Regions from separate parts of the Homo sapiens genome. Here all the other regions are linked to region 1. The links are contacts of gene promoters, found by promoter capture Hi-C in human tissues and cell types (Jung and others, 2019). All regions are on one chromosome and are shown on one strand. Each heading gives the region's core, a stretch centred on a gene start or on the middle of the fragment in contact. The rest is flanking DNA. Distances are from core to core; before and after follow the strand shown.

Region 1 (4,958 bases), core at 1,508-4,007:
CGGGCCTTTCACTAGTTTTAGAGTTGGAGAGGAGCCACAAATGTAAAATAATATCATATACATAGTTTATATTTGTACTGTTCAATTATGATGAACAATAAATAATAAACCAACAATAATAATTTAAACCAATCTCAGAAGTTTCCAGGACTTTTTCCCTTATAAAAGTCCTCTGAATATGACTCAAATTTGAGAAAAACAAATTATTGTGGAGAATGCCTCACTGAGGATATAGGTGGAATGACCCCAGAGCCTGTATTAACATGAAATAGAAAGCATTATTAATCTATTTACGTATGGGGTTTCAAGCCATCCCATAGAGTAGAGCACCTCTACTCTATCTGCTTTACACTTTGTCTTTCTCTGCAAGATTTTATTTCAACTTTAATGTTTTTAACTTTTATTTTAGGTATTTTTTTTTAAACTAGTGCACTATATCCCCGGTGGATTTCTAGAAAATCTTAGGTTTTCTGGATTAGAACAAGTTAAAGAGAATAGAGCAATAGCTATACGGATTAACTTCAAAAGGAGAAGCTTCAGGGTGGAATTATCCCCAAACTCTGGATAATTTTATGCAAGGACTAATCTAAACCAGATGCCTTTTTATCCTCTGATATACTGCTGTTTAAAGAGGGCATGTGGGCTTTGCTTCGCTAAAGGAGACTAGAACAATAGCACCTTTTAAACCAAGGTAAAATTATTTGTTTTAATCTCATTTATCCACAATAAACCAGGGAATTAAATTTCTAAAACTTTCCTCTAATTCAGTTTTATGGGCTCTTTCCCTATGGTTCAATATAAAAAATGCCATTTAAAATTTTAGGACTCAAAGAATTCCTTCAGTAGCTAGTTATGAAATTCTTTTCCTCCTACACTACCCCAGCAGCTAACATTTCATGCACGTACTTCCTTTGTATTTGAGAATGACCAGATTTGAAAACTGACAAGTAGAAGTGCTATTCAAACAGGAGGATCCCTTTGGAATTTCTAAGCAATAAGAAAATCCTTTCCAAATGGGATGCCTTGAGGTGACTCTATGACAAGAACACAAAAGTTATATGGAGAAATTATTCATTCTTGCAGTCGTATATTCATCCTATTTCATATGAGTGCCAACCAAGTGTGAAGTTTTTACTAGGCTCTGAGGATAAAATGGTGACTTAGCCCCTGTTCTCATGGAGTTTATGGTTGAAGAGGGAAGAGACATTGCATAATTACAAAATCAAATGCATATTTACAAAGTAGGAAAAATATTATGAAGCAAAAGCATAGGGTACCATAAGAATGCATCACAATGGGTTTATCGTAGTTTGTGGGAATCATGTAGCATCTATGGCAGTTCCATTCACTGGGACACTGAACAAGATGACCAGGCTTGAGCAGAAGTATCACGGCTGCATTTTTTTTTGCAATCTAGGTTTGAGACAAGCAAACAGGGAAGCCAAATAAACACTTGAATATATGGATAAATCTGAAGGTATAAATGTAAGATTCTGTAGGTACGAGATCATAAGCTAGAAGTGAAAATGTATTTAGAGGTAAGAGTTAAAAGGAAAAGAGGGCCCGTAACTGATTTTTAAGGAATTCCAGCATCTAAAGATTGGGGGAGAGGAGGCAAAGAAGACTGAAGAGTGGCCTGGGGACAGGGGCAGATCTACCTGGAAATTGATGTAGCTTAACGTTCCGGGTCCTTCTCTTGCCTGGGAGCAACCCTAGCAATGTGTTTACATGGGCATTTATTTTTTGAATTTTTCTAAAGAAAGATTTTTTTTTTTTTTTTGGTTAAAGCAGAGCTCCCAATTGTACAAGCTTCAGAGCCCATACATCCGCCCTTGACTAAGCGGAAGAAGCAAAACCAAGAGTGTGATTGCATGGAATTACAAGAGGGGTGGGGTGGGGAGGACTCTAGGAAGAGAGAGGTCAACAGCTGTGAATGTGTTTGAAAGTCCAAGGAATATGAGAAAAAAGTATTTTTATTCAGAATATTAAAAGAAATTCTTTTAAATGTTCTAAATTGGACTTCTGAGTATCCTTTGGTCCTATAATCTAATATCAGAGGGATATTTTGAAAAAGAGTTTCTTATGCAGAAAAAAATTCGTGGGACTTCCAAATTGAGGATAACAGAAAGAAAATCTTAAGTGGCACAAAATAGAAATGAATATCTGTTCTTCCTGGGGCCATGCAACTCTAATAACTTTTCCATGTTTACTGTTTTTGCTTTTTAATTGGATCATCAGACTAAGAATGCACCCTGATGTGCGAAAAGTTACTTAGAAAGTGAGAGGACTGCCCCCACCCTTCTGATTAAAGCGCTTCTCATAAGCATCCTATGCCATTCAGTAAGCTACCCATGCAGAAAGCATCCACAGGGCAGTGCACATAAGGAAAATCTGAGGAGCTAGAAACAGGCTATCAGTTTCCGCAGGTTGACAAAATCGGCAGATAAAAATACAAGACTGCCATTAAATTTGAATTTCCGATAAACAACGAAGAACTTTTTAGCATAAGTACGTCCCAAATATTGCATGGGATATACTTGTACTAAAATTATTCCTTTTTTTTTTTATTTGAAATTCCCATTTAACAGAGCAGCCTATATTTTATCTGACCACCTCACAAGTCCACTACCCACACCCCAGGTCGAGCGGCCCAGGAGCGAGTTTAAAACCCCGCACAGGCCTGCTCGGCCGCGTCCCCTGATTGGCCAAGGCGCGCCCGCCGCCCCGCCGGTCGCAGGCGTCACGGCAGCCCCAGCAGCCTGGGCCCCGCCACCGCCTCCGCGGCAGCCCCGGTCGGCGCAAGTGCGGCGCGCGCTGGGGGAGGGGGCGCGGCGGAGCGCTAGGCTGGCGTCGGGCCACCGCGGGATTAAGTTTCTCAGTCACGCGTGAGTGTCTGTGCGTTTTGATCCGAAGCTCCTCGCCGGGTCGTTACTTCAGAAGAGAAGACAGTGAGCGTGGGCGAGGCGAGGCATCCAGAGGCCCCGGCGACCCCTGCTCCCCAGTCCTCCGCCCCCTCGCGTCGCGGCCCTGGGCGGGCGCCGCGAGCCGGGTAAGCGGCGCTTGAGCCCCGGCCCAGAGGCCGAGGCGCGCCCCCGCGCCCTGCGCGCGCGCCGGCGGGGAAGGTGCGCGGGCGCCCTGGGCTCGGCGCTTGGGGGTGGGGGTGGGGGCGGGGATGGGGGTGGGGGTGGGGGTGGGGGTAGGGGTGGCGGCGGGCCGTGGGGCGGTGGGGCGGTGCGCTTGCCCCACCCCGCGCGGCCCGGCGCTTCGCGGAAGCCGCTGCTGTGGCTTTTTTAAAAGGATGGGGTCTAGAAGTTTCCTTTGCTACTCGCAAGTCTCCACTCCCCCCAGCCCCGCGGTGGATAATCCTAGACCTTTCAGCACCCCCGCCACCCCTTTCTTTTGCTCTCGCTGACTAAGAGGTTTAAAAGTTTTTCCTTTTCCTTGACCCAGAGGGGCACAGTCTTGGTGTCGGGGGGCTGGGGGTGGGGTGTTAGCCTGGGGGCCCGGAGCGCAGACCAGGCCTCCAGGGCGCGGGAGCCTGTTGCTCTCCCCTGCAGGGGCCGCTCCCGGACGCCCCATCCGCCGTTACGTGGTCCCGGGATGTGCGGGTTGCGGTAGAGAGTGGGCAGCAATGCTCCTGGTCCTGCGTTCTCGCCTTAGCCGCGGGGACCCCGAGGCGAGCCGCTAATTGGTACCGGTGCCCCGTCCCTCACCCCTGGCACCGGCGCCCTTTTAACCGCCGCTCCCGTTGGTGGGAGCACGTTGGTCTTGTCTCTCCCTTAGTCTCCTCACCCCCCGCGCTGATGGGCGTCTTTGTCTGCGATTTGGCAGCCCCAGGATGCCGGATGTTACCAGGGAAGCGATGTTTGGGAGACGCTTTGTGTCTTGCGGAGTTGCGCGTTTGTTGGGTGGTGATGGTGTACATTTTTGTTTGCGTTCTTTGCAGAGGCACAAAGGCTGGGCTATTCTTGCCTGCAGTCACATGGAAATCAAGCGGAGACTGCGGGGGAGGAGAAGTGGCCAGGCGCCGGCGGGAGGTAGAGGCCGCTCCGTAGTCACTGGGGGCGAGTGGGGGCCCCTGGAGACCTCTACTGCGCGGTGCGGCTTTTGAGGTGCTCCGCTTGGGAAGACCCCGGCAATGGGCACTGACTGCCTTTTTGCAGTAGGGGCTGCGGTTGGAGGCTAGTGTTTCCTAGGTATCATCAGATAGATAAGAGGACCATGACTTCACCAGCGTAGAAGGAAAACTTCTCCATGTTCCTTGATGTCATAGAGAAGGAATCTGATAAGTGATCAGACTGCCTCGTCCTGCCTTGTAGACAGTTTGATGTAAACATCCCCTTCGTGTTTCCCTAGAAATTCCTGGTTTAGGTTACCCTTTATAGAATAAATAACACCTTATCTGAAAACTAACGAGGAGGAGGTGATGGTTTCGGGCTTGGGAGTTTTACATGTTGAATTTGGGTATGAGTGATTACAATGAACATCTTGTAATGTTGGAACTATCTAAATTTGTATAATGTATGCCTTAGCACCTGATGGAATTTTGGCAAACAATAGTGTTTTAAAAACCTAGCAAAACTTGGCCAGGCGCAATGGCTCACGCTTGTAATCCCAGCACTTTGGGAGACCGAGGTGGGTGGATCACTTAAGGTCAGGAGTTCAAGACCAGGCTGGCCAACATGGTGAAACCCTGTCTCTACTAAAAATACAAACATTAGCGGAGCGTGATGGCTCGCACCTGTAGTCTCAGATACTAGGGAGGCTGGGGCAGGAGAATCGCTTGAACCCGGGAGGCAGCGGTTGCATTGAGCCGAGATCGCGCCACTGCACTCCGGCCTGGGTGACAGAGCGAGACTCTGACTCAATAAATAAGTAAATAAATAAAAAATAAAAATAAAAGCCTAGCAAAACGTTCCTTGACTTGATCTTCTAATACAATACTAAGCTTTGGATGG
Region 2 (4,958 bases), core at 770-3,269, 300 kb before region 1:
AAAGAACTGTCTTATTCTTCTATTCAATCAATATTAAGTATATGGTTAAACGAAAGTTACCAAAATATTATGTATAAAACCAGAAAAAACATTACACTCTTTTTTGTTTGTAATCAATACAAAATAAAATAATTTGGAATTAACATTAGCAGACGCTCAAACCAGACCTAGATAATGCCTATAACATCATCTTACTATAATGAGGAATTTTCACAAACAAAAGAGGATACATTCTGATATGTTATTTCCAGATAAACTGATAATCAGAAAGTCTTTTGGCAGAAAATGTTGGTGTTATTGGTAAAGTCAGATATCAGGAAAATTTTAAGTAGTAATAAGGGGGATGGATAGTATCTACACATTATAATTTATTGAAATGGATAGAACAAAGAGAAGACATCGTATTACAATATTTCTTTCTCTGTGTTCTGCCAGGTCAACTTTGGGGGCAGGCACCTGGTGAATTTGTGTTTGATAGGTGGGATTGCTTTGGGCAAGTGCACGCCGACTGCAACATCCAGATCATTTTCCATCCAGTTCCGCTACACAGTGGGACTTGACGGCTATTGAGGGTCGGGATTATAACTGCGTCTAATTGCTATTACCATCTGCTGTAGAGAAGAAAGAAATGTCTTTCTTCTTTTTGACAAAAGCAGGAAATAAAATGATAAATATATACCAAAAGAAAAACCACTTATCTATCAGACCTCGTAACTGAAGAATCCAACCAGCTGCAAGAGAGTCAATTCAGAAATAAAATTCAAAAAAAGTTGAAGCTTGCTTCTTCAACTTTAGTGCCTAATTCAAGTCAGAGTAATGTCTATCGTGGGGCAGAGCATATGGCTAGGGAGAAGTGAAGGTAGTTGGTGAAGGGGACCACACTGCGTGCCAGCACAGGAAATGACATCTCTAATGCCCATCTTATATTTTGGGACAACTTCATTTAAAATATGGAAACTGAAGCTCAGAGAGCTTACATAGTTTCCCCACACCTATATAGCTGGCAAACAGATTCAAGGAAAATTTGTGAACTGGATGTCTTTTGGGTGGCTGGTCAAGAAGAGTAATTATTTCTTAGCTCAAGCAAATCTTGTAAGAATGTAACTATATATAAAGGGATTTTTAAAACATCCTCTCTGACAGCCAACTATTATAGAATTACCGTAAGAAACAAAAAAAGTATCAGCTTCCTAAACACAGGATTATAATTAACAACAAAAAAGTAAATATGTTCCTAGTTCATTAAATTGCTAATAATTATTACTACATTAATGAGCCCAACCCAAGTTCACCCTTTGCTGAGATGTGGTAACATACACAAATAGTAAGAGAGAAAGAAAAATATATCATTGTTTCCTAGGGTAAATTCAAGATGAAGAAGCAAAATTTTTTTCTGAATTGTGTAATGTATTCACATTAATCTGATGTGCATATTGTGAGTGCCTTACAGAGTGATGAAACTAAGCGTGGCTCTATTAAAAAGAACAGCAACTGAATTTAAATGACTGAATTTCTGTGAAGAAAGAAAAAGAAAGAAATGACTCAAAGGTTCATACAGGAGCCATGGAAAAAAGTCCATTTTCCTTGGTAAGGTGTAAAAACTGTGCATTGAAAGGATATTATCAACGGTCCTGTAAAATGTAATAAAAGGAGCCGTAAATTTTTCCTGAAATATGCAACGTTAAAAAATATGAAGTTAAAAGTTCTGGCAGCTCTGTTGATTTCCTTGAGGGGGAAAAAACAGCTAGGGGGACCTCAAACTGCCTTTTCCTTGAGATTCTGACCACGTGCAAAGTGAAGTTTCACAGGGACCTGGGCAGTGTAGAAAACAGGCTGCAAGGTTGTAAAACACCAGGTACAGCCATGGTGACCTGTTGTTCATCAGGGGCTGAGTTCTGAGTCTGGAATAACGTTCCTGAATATCTCTCCTGTGGTAGGAAAGTCAAGGAAATGTGGCAGATTGATAATAATTCTAACTGCTGGAAATATTTGCTTCACCTTCTACCTATGTTCATCTCATCTGTCCCTGCATTTTCCTATTTCATTTCTTTTTGATTTCCCAAACACGCATGGAGTATCTTGTCAGATATGGTAAAAGACACTGGAAAAATACAAGATAGTCTCTGCTTTCTGGAACCTCACATAGCCTGAGAGGGGCCAAGACACAGGCCTGCCTCTAAAACTTTGCAGGCCCAGGGTAAGACCACATACTATATGTCCAAATATTTCAAATATGTTAACCAAGTTAACAATGTTTAAATTATGTTCTATCTTCCAGCCTTAAACAAACGAACTATGTAATAATCTGGATTACCAGGTTCACATTTCAAAGTACTGGATTCATTAGAGTTCTGCAGAGGAACATGGTGGCATAAGAGAGTGGACCTGAACCCCCATTCTATTCAGGGCTCCATCCTGCAACATGAGGGGCCTCATGCACCAGCAGACGCTCTACTCAGTACTTCCAAGCTCTGTTTACTACCTTCCTTCACACACACTGTAACCCCTGCTCCTCGGCCTCCTCCGGTGGCAGGTCTTGGTGGCATATTCCAGGTGAGAACAGCCCTTGACTCTCAGATGCCCTGCGTTGGGAGAGGGGCATGGCTGGAGAAAGGGCAGTGTTGGGCCCTCTAAGCATTATCAAGCAGTATTGACAAGCTTGGTGTTGAAATTAGAGTAATATGATATAGTTCCTCATAAATATTTTCCGAAGACTCTAGATCAGATTCATTTTCATTAGATTAGTATCTCTTCAACTATCACAAAAAAAGAGAAAAAAAAGAAAAAGAATATATTAGGCATTTCCTATTGCTTGTGTTCTTTGACCGAACAAAAACTATAAAAAATGTTCAGTTTAAGTGGACAAACACTTACACCTGAATTTAAAGAGATACGTGTGCATTGATTGGTTCAACTCATTTTTTGATAAACACATATAATAATCACAATTATCATTTTATGTTTTCTTTAAACTCAAAATTTCAGGATTCCAATTCATAGTTGGAAGCATATCTATGACTCTGAGCCATTTCACCATTTTGTTTTCATATAGTAATCATCACAGACGTTTCTTTAACTTTCTTCAGTTTGTCTTTTCAGATTTATTTCATTTTAACTTTCCCTTTCTGTTTATCATGGCTGTTAATAATTTGTTACTTCAATCATTGTTTAACCAAACCTTTGATCATAGTGTTCATGCTGTCTTCCAGGTACATTAGTCTCCAAATGATACAATCACTCTATTGCTCTTGTTTTGAATTAGCTCTTCTTTCTTTACATTTTTCGGAAAATCTAGACTCAGTTCCCAGCACTGAATTTTCTTGTCTCAGTTCCAAATTGAATAGTATACCGTTTTCTGCAACATTACATTATAAATCAACCAAAGACTAGCTTGACTTTATTCCTTTTTTTATCCTGATATAATTGTTGTTGTTGTTGTTTTGTGTTTTGTTTGAGACAGGGTCTCACTCTGTCACCCAGGCTGGAGTGCAGTGGCACAATCTCGGCTCACTGCAACCTCTACCTCCGGTGTTCAAGCGACTCTTGTGCCTAAGGCTCCCAAGTGGCTGAGATTACAGGTATGCCATCACACCTGGCTATTTTTTTTTTTTTTTTTAAGTATGAACGGGTTTCACCATGTTGACCAGGCTGGTCTCGAACTCCTGGCCTTAAGTGATCTGCCTGCCTCAGCCTCCCAAACTGCTGAGGTTACACGCTGAGCTACCTTGCCAGGTCTCTGACATAATTTTTTGTATTAATCATACATAAGGTCTTCCACCTATAGAAATTCATCTGTGTTTCAGATGTGTTCAAAATTCTAAATAATTTCTTCCAAGTCATTTATTATTTTTGAATCCTGACTTTTTAGCCAGGCTTTCTAAAAAATAGATCTGCAAATTTTTTTAATTCTTTGTTTGGCTTATTCATGCTCCTTACTAAGTGCATTATAATGGGAAGGAATAATTCTTCAATTTCTTCAACAATTTTCTTTTTTTCTTTTTCTTTTTTTTTTTTATTTTTTTTTTTTTTTGAGACAAGCTCTGTCTCTGTCGCCCAGGCTGGAGTGCAGCGGCGTGATCTCGGCTCACTATAACTTCCACCTCCTAGGTTCAAGCAAGTCTCCTGCCTCAGCCTCCCAAGTAGCTGGGATTACAGGTGCCCTCCCACCATGCCTGGCTAATTTTTGTATCTGTAGTAGAGACAGGGGTTTCACTATGTTGGCCAGGCTGGTCTCAAACTCCTGACCTCAGGCAATCTGCCCAACTCGGTCTTCCAAAGTCCTGGGATTACAGGTGTGAGCCACTGCACCCGGCCTCTTCAGCAATTTTCAATACAACTTGAGTAATTATAATCAAGTCTCATTAAATTTGAGTCTACCCAATTCTGAAATCACTCCCTGGTATGGTATATTGTGAACTCTAAGAAAAGAAATTATTGCTGTCCAAGTTTGCACACAGTTAACGTATAGGATTTTAATCTTTGCTTCATTTGGAAAAGTAAATTAGTAAGAAAAAGCACCAAGTTCACATGAGAGTTGGCCCTAAAGTGAAGTAGGTAGGAGAAGTAGCACCCTGCAAAGTCAGTCCTGAGTGTTGCTGCTGAACACTCCACTCCCTTCCTTCGCAGGTATTGGAGTACAAATACTGCACCTAGATTTAGGTCCAAGTTTCACTTCTGAACCTTAGAAGCTTCCAGATATGAACAAATTATCTAACCTCTTTGAACCTCAAAATCAATAGTTTATAAAAACAGAGGAGTAGATTGTCTCTAAGGTACATTTTAGCTTTTATAATCTATTCCTCAGTTGTTCTACGTGACCTGAAACTTTCCCCACTAGCTACTGATGAGTTGCGGATAGAGTTGGCTACAAAGATTGGAGCACTCGCTCTATACTTCCATAGTTCAGATGCATGGAGCATTTCAACAGAGGACTGTATTTTCAGGCTAGTGACTTGAGT
Region 3 (4,958 bases), core at 633-3,132, 280 kb before region 1:
GAGTTGATCCCTCATGAATAGCTTGGTCCGGTCCCCACTGCAATGAATGAATTCTTGCTCTGTTCACATGACAGCTGGTTGTTTAAAAGAGACTGGCATTTCCTTTCTCTCTTTTTCCTCCTCTTTCACCCTGTGACATTCCAGCTCCCTTTCCCCTTCTGGCAAGATTGGAAGCTTCCTGAGTACTCACCAGAAGCATACCTGGTGAGGTGGTACCATGCTTCTTGTAAAGCCTGCAGAACCCTGAGCTGAATAAACCTCTTGTCTTTACAAATTACCCAGTCTCAGGTATTCCTTTATAGCAATGCAAACAGACTGAGATAGTAACACGTACATGTTTGAAGGTATGGATATGAGCATAGGAAAAGACTGGAAACATGCTTGCCAAACTCTAACAGGCAGTAATCACTAGCAAGCGGCAGATAGTTACTACCGCTTACATTTATGCCCTTGTAGATTGTTGTGATGATTTTTATGACACACATGCACTAGTTGCACAATTTCAAAAGGTATTAAATAAAACTGGGATCGGTGAGAGTTTTTTATATAAAATAAGCTCATTTTAAAATCACAGTTGCAAGACCTAAATATACAAGAAATATGAGAACTCAGTATATATTCACAGGGAAGAGTTAGAAACAATGCATGGAGATTGCATGGAGGCAAATTTCAAATCAACTTGAGAGATCGGTTGTTCGCCATCCCATGTTTAAATACCCTTGCGGCATTGTTTATATTGGCAAAAACGTTGATGTCAACTCAATGACTTATAAGAGAAAACTGCATAAAGTGTGATATATCTATACAATGTAATAAAGTACAGCTGTGAAAATGAGTGAGCTAGAACTAGCTTTTATCCACATTGATAAATCTCACAAATGTATTGCTGAATAGTAAGAGCAAGTGGCAAAGGAAAACACAACGTGTTATACCATTCATATGAAGTTAGGAAGCATGTAACGCAGTACTATGCATTGCTTATAGATATTTATTGATTTAACAAACTTAGTAATAGATCCATAGGAAGGGTGAATACCAAATTTAAGTAGAGGTTAACCTTTAGGAAAAAAAAAAAAAGTAGGGCCAGAGAGAGATAGACAGGGACTTGAATTATATTAGTTAATACTTTATTTCTTACTATGAGTGGTAGGGACATGGGTACTAATTACATACTGTAGTCCCCCCTTTCACTTTCTGTGGTCTCAGTTACTTGTGGTCAACCATGGTCCAATAATATTAAATGGAAAATTACAGAAATAAACAATTTATAAGATTTACATTGTGTGCTGTTCTGAGTAGCATGATGAAATACGGCACAGACCTGCCTGCGATGTGAATCATCTCTTTGTCCCTGTGCACCCTATATGCTACCTGCCCATTAGTTACTTAGTAGCCATCTAGGTTATCAGCTCAAAAAAACATAGTATTGTATATATAGAGCTCAGTACTATCAATGATTTCAAGTATTCACAGGCAGTCTTGGAACTTATCCCCTACAGACAAGAAAAACTACTGTAATGCTTTTACCTTTCTGTATGTATAAAATATGTCATAATAATATCAATGATAATAAGTTACTTAGCACTTACTATGGGCCAGACACCATGCTAAGGATTTTCTATGTATTATTTCCTCCTCACAAAAGCCCCGCCACAGTGTTGTTAATCTAATTTTACAAATAAGCAAATCAAAGCATAAAGAAGTTAGGTAACAGGACAAAGATTGTATCTAGTACGTAAGGAGCAGAGCTGGGATTTAAGACTAATAGTTTATCTGACATGTAGTAGACAACAATCTGTGTACTATTCTCTTAATCACTTATAGACATACATACATATATATAGATAAATATACGTGTGTATGAAAAGGGTTGTCTTGCAAGATAATATCTTCCTTTTTCATGTAATAGATTATCTGGTCAAGTAATGAGCTCCTCAGCTTTGAAAATGTAGTTAGATGACCAACTCACAGATTACTATGGGTGGCATTACATGGTGGTTTCTGGGAGGTCAGGATACATAAACTGAAATTTCCTTCCAGCTCCAAATCTCTGAATTTTTAATGTCAGGACTAGTTTGTTTGGTGGGCAGGGAAGATGTGGGACAAAGCCTTCTACTTTAGGCATATTGAGTTTGAGGTAAAAGTATGTCTAGCAAACAGAGATGATGAGATTTACTTTGCATTACAGTATGAATCTATTAGCAAAATAGTTCACATATAAGAATAGATGAGGTTATCCAAGACATATGCAGAAAAGAGACCCACGTCTGCTGCGAAGAGGAGGAGAAGACTATTTTTGTCTGTCTTTCTTGCTCTTCACACACGTGCATGTGTGCATACACATTCACATACCCAGATGCATTTTGTTCAAATTAATATCAACAGTTCTCTTTCTCCTTTTCATATATCCGAAAGCAATGCTCACATATGTGTCAATGGATGAAGAAATTACCCCTTTGACATAGGTGTCAACTACTTTGTTTATCCCAGCGTGCCTATCTACCCCTCCAATCTATTTGCATTAAAATCTGAAGAATTAAAACACACACACATACACACACCTTTTCCACTTTTTCTAATTTCACCTGCACTCTAAAAAAATAACTATTTCACAATAGCAAACACCCCACATTTCAGCCTCTATACTTGTCAATTGAGTCAGCATACTGAATGCCAAAATAATAATTTTTAGAGTTAAAAGGTCCTTTGAATGATTTATAAAACTTTTCTCACTATTTGTACTAAGCTTTAAAACCATTTCATTTTTCACAGTGAAACTAATTTTAAGGAAATAGAGAAAAATACCTTTCTAAAATTCTCATTTATTTTTGTATATTCACAGATTAACATGCTAAATAGAAGGAGGAATTTGTCTTTTCCCTGAGCTCGGGCAAGTCTGATCAGCCCATGAGCAAATGAGTATTTCTCAACAAATGGACTGTAATGATTATCTTAAGGTATTAATATCATCATACACAAGTGGAAGTGTTATTTTCAACAGATTCTGTTAGGATTTTACTGTAGTTTTTATTTAGTTAGAAATCAGCTGTTCCATCTTGTCTGGGGTATTGTAAAAGTGGGGTGACTGAAAAAGAGAGCAAATAAAGACTGAGAGAAGGAAAGCTAATATTTATTGAACCTACCAGGTGCTTTACATTATGGCAGGCTGTACACATTTAATCCTCTTGACAATTGTCTTCTTAGTTTTTATTATCCCATTTTTTAGATTGTAACTGAGTTTCAGAGACATTCAGTAAATTATCCCAAAGTCATATAGGATAAAACTTAGGTATGTCTTGGCTCCAAAGTTCACAATTTTTCATTTATACCAGTATGTACAAATACAACATATTAGAGTGTTTATTCAGCAGAGATTAATCAGTCCTTCCACCTGTTACTTAATATCTTCAACTGTGTCTTCAAACGAGTTAAAACTACTATCTAGTTGTTAGTAGAGTTTTAGTATTTGGTTCATACCTAACAGGAAAAAAAGAAATTTGCGGTCACAGCTTTACTAATATTCTTTGCATAAGCTTCCTTGTTAAAATGCTTAATATAATACCTGGAATTGCTGTACTATTCATTTTTCAAAATGCAGATTTACTTTATTATTTAGTAAATATGATTCTAATTTGGTTTTACATAAGTCATTTTCTATTTGTGCCAAATATAATTCCATTTACACCTTTTGCTGATTAATGGTTTGTAAGAATCATACGGAAATCATATTCTTAGTGGTGACCTTATTTAAATGGAAATACAAAAGCCTGTTAGGGACTAAGTCTTATTTCCCGCAATGAGGGGACAGTCCTCATGACCTACTTCCCAAAAGCCCCATCACCTAATACCATCACCTTGGAGGTTCGGATTTCAACATGAATTTGTAAGGAACATAAACTTTCAGATTATAAATACTGTGTGCCAATTTGGACTTGAAAAGACTGACCACTCCTCCTTTTATCCAGGAGCAAGGGAAGCTATTTCCCCAGCTTGCAGAAGTTATGTCTCCTCCCCATGCATTATCTCTCAGAGATATTTCTCTTCTAGATCTCGGTTTCTCCTAGAAAGATCCTATTCATTCAGGACACTTGTCATTTTTCGTGGAAAAACTGACTTTCCCTGTTAGCTGGAAATATTAGTTAAGTCAAATGCAGTGGTAGACAGAGAAGGGAAGAAGCTCTTCCTATCTCTCTTGTTCTTTGTTCACTGTCCAGCTCACCCCTGAAGAATTAGGTCTGGACAAGACATGAACTGGCACCAGAATAAGGGACAGGACAGTCAATGGGCACAACATCAGGCAGCCACAGGGTCTGTAGAAATGAGCACAAAGAATCTCAAATAATCATACAAGAGATATAAAACAGAGAGGAAGGACCATCCACTTATTATTTGGCTCTGTCTCTTTGTCTATAGTATTTATTTGTATTTAAGACCAGAATCAAATCACTAATTCCCCATCAGACTTTTGTTTGTAGCAGTTCTATGACTCTTCCAACTTCATAGTACCTGATGTAGATCACCAGCCACCCTAAATAGATCAATGACTATTTTCTAGCACAGTCTATCTGGTGTCCCTAAAGGCAAATCAGATGTGAAGGGTCTTGAATCTAATGCTAAAGAAATTTATCTTGGCCAGGCACAGTGGCTCACACCTGTAATCCCAGCACTTTCAGAGGCTGAGGCGGGTGGATCACTTGAGGTCAGGAATTTGAGACCAGCCTGGCCAACATGGCAAAACCTTGTCTCTACTAAAAATACAAAAATTAATCAAGCGTGGTGGCAGGCACCTGTAATCCCAGCTACTAAGGAGGCTGAGGGAGGAGAATCGCTTGAACCTGGGAAGCAGAGGTTGCAGTGAGCCAAGATAGTGCCATTTCACTCCAGCCTGGGTGACAGAGTGAGACTCTGTCTTAAAAAAAACTTTTCTAAAGAAATTGGTCTTATTCATTGAGGGTATA

Evidence for each region. Contacts are between HindIII fragments. The study calls those that stand out against the background at their distance.
Region 2: a fragment that was not itself captured here is called in contact with the fragment with the promoter of MPDZ in region 1 in 2 of the 25 tissues and cell types used here (dorsolateral prefrontal cortex and hippocampus).
Region 3: a contact is called between a fragment that was not itself captured here and the fragment with the promoter of MPDZ in region 1, in 2 of the 25 tissues and cell types used here (dorsolateral prefrontal cortex and hippocampus).

Annotation. Positions count from the first base shown.
Region 1 is chr9:13,277,491-13,282,448 of GRCh38, reverse strand. MPDZ (multiple PDZ domain crumbs cell polarity complex component) reads left to right here and starts at 2,757. Exons shown (of 47, transcript NM_001378778.1): 1 at 2,757-3,049. RefSeq lists enhancers at 3,134-3,849, 3,850-4,565, 4,566-4,958. The HindIII fragment of the contact is 5,465 bases long and covers 1,173-4,958 here.
Region 2 is chr9:13,578,548-13,583,505 of GRCh38, reverse strand. No RefSeq gene overlaps it. Among named protein-coding and RNA genes, the nearest start is that of LINC01235, 150 kb to the right of the region's middle. The HindIII fragment of the contact is 3,308 bases long and covers 366-3,673 here.
Region 3 is chr9:13,558,248-13,563,205 of GRCh38, reverse strand. No RefSeq gene overlaps it. Among named protein-coding and RNA genes, the nearest start is that of LINC01235, 130 kb to the right of the region's middle. The HindIII fragment of the contact is 4,985 bases long and covers 1-4,374 here.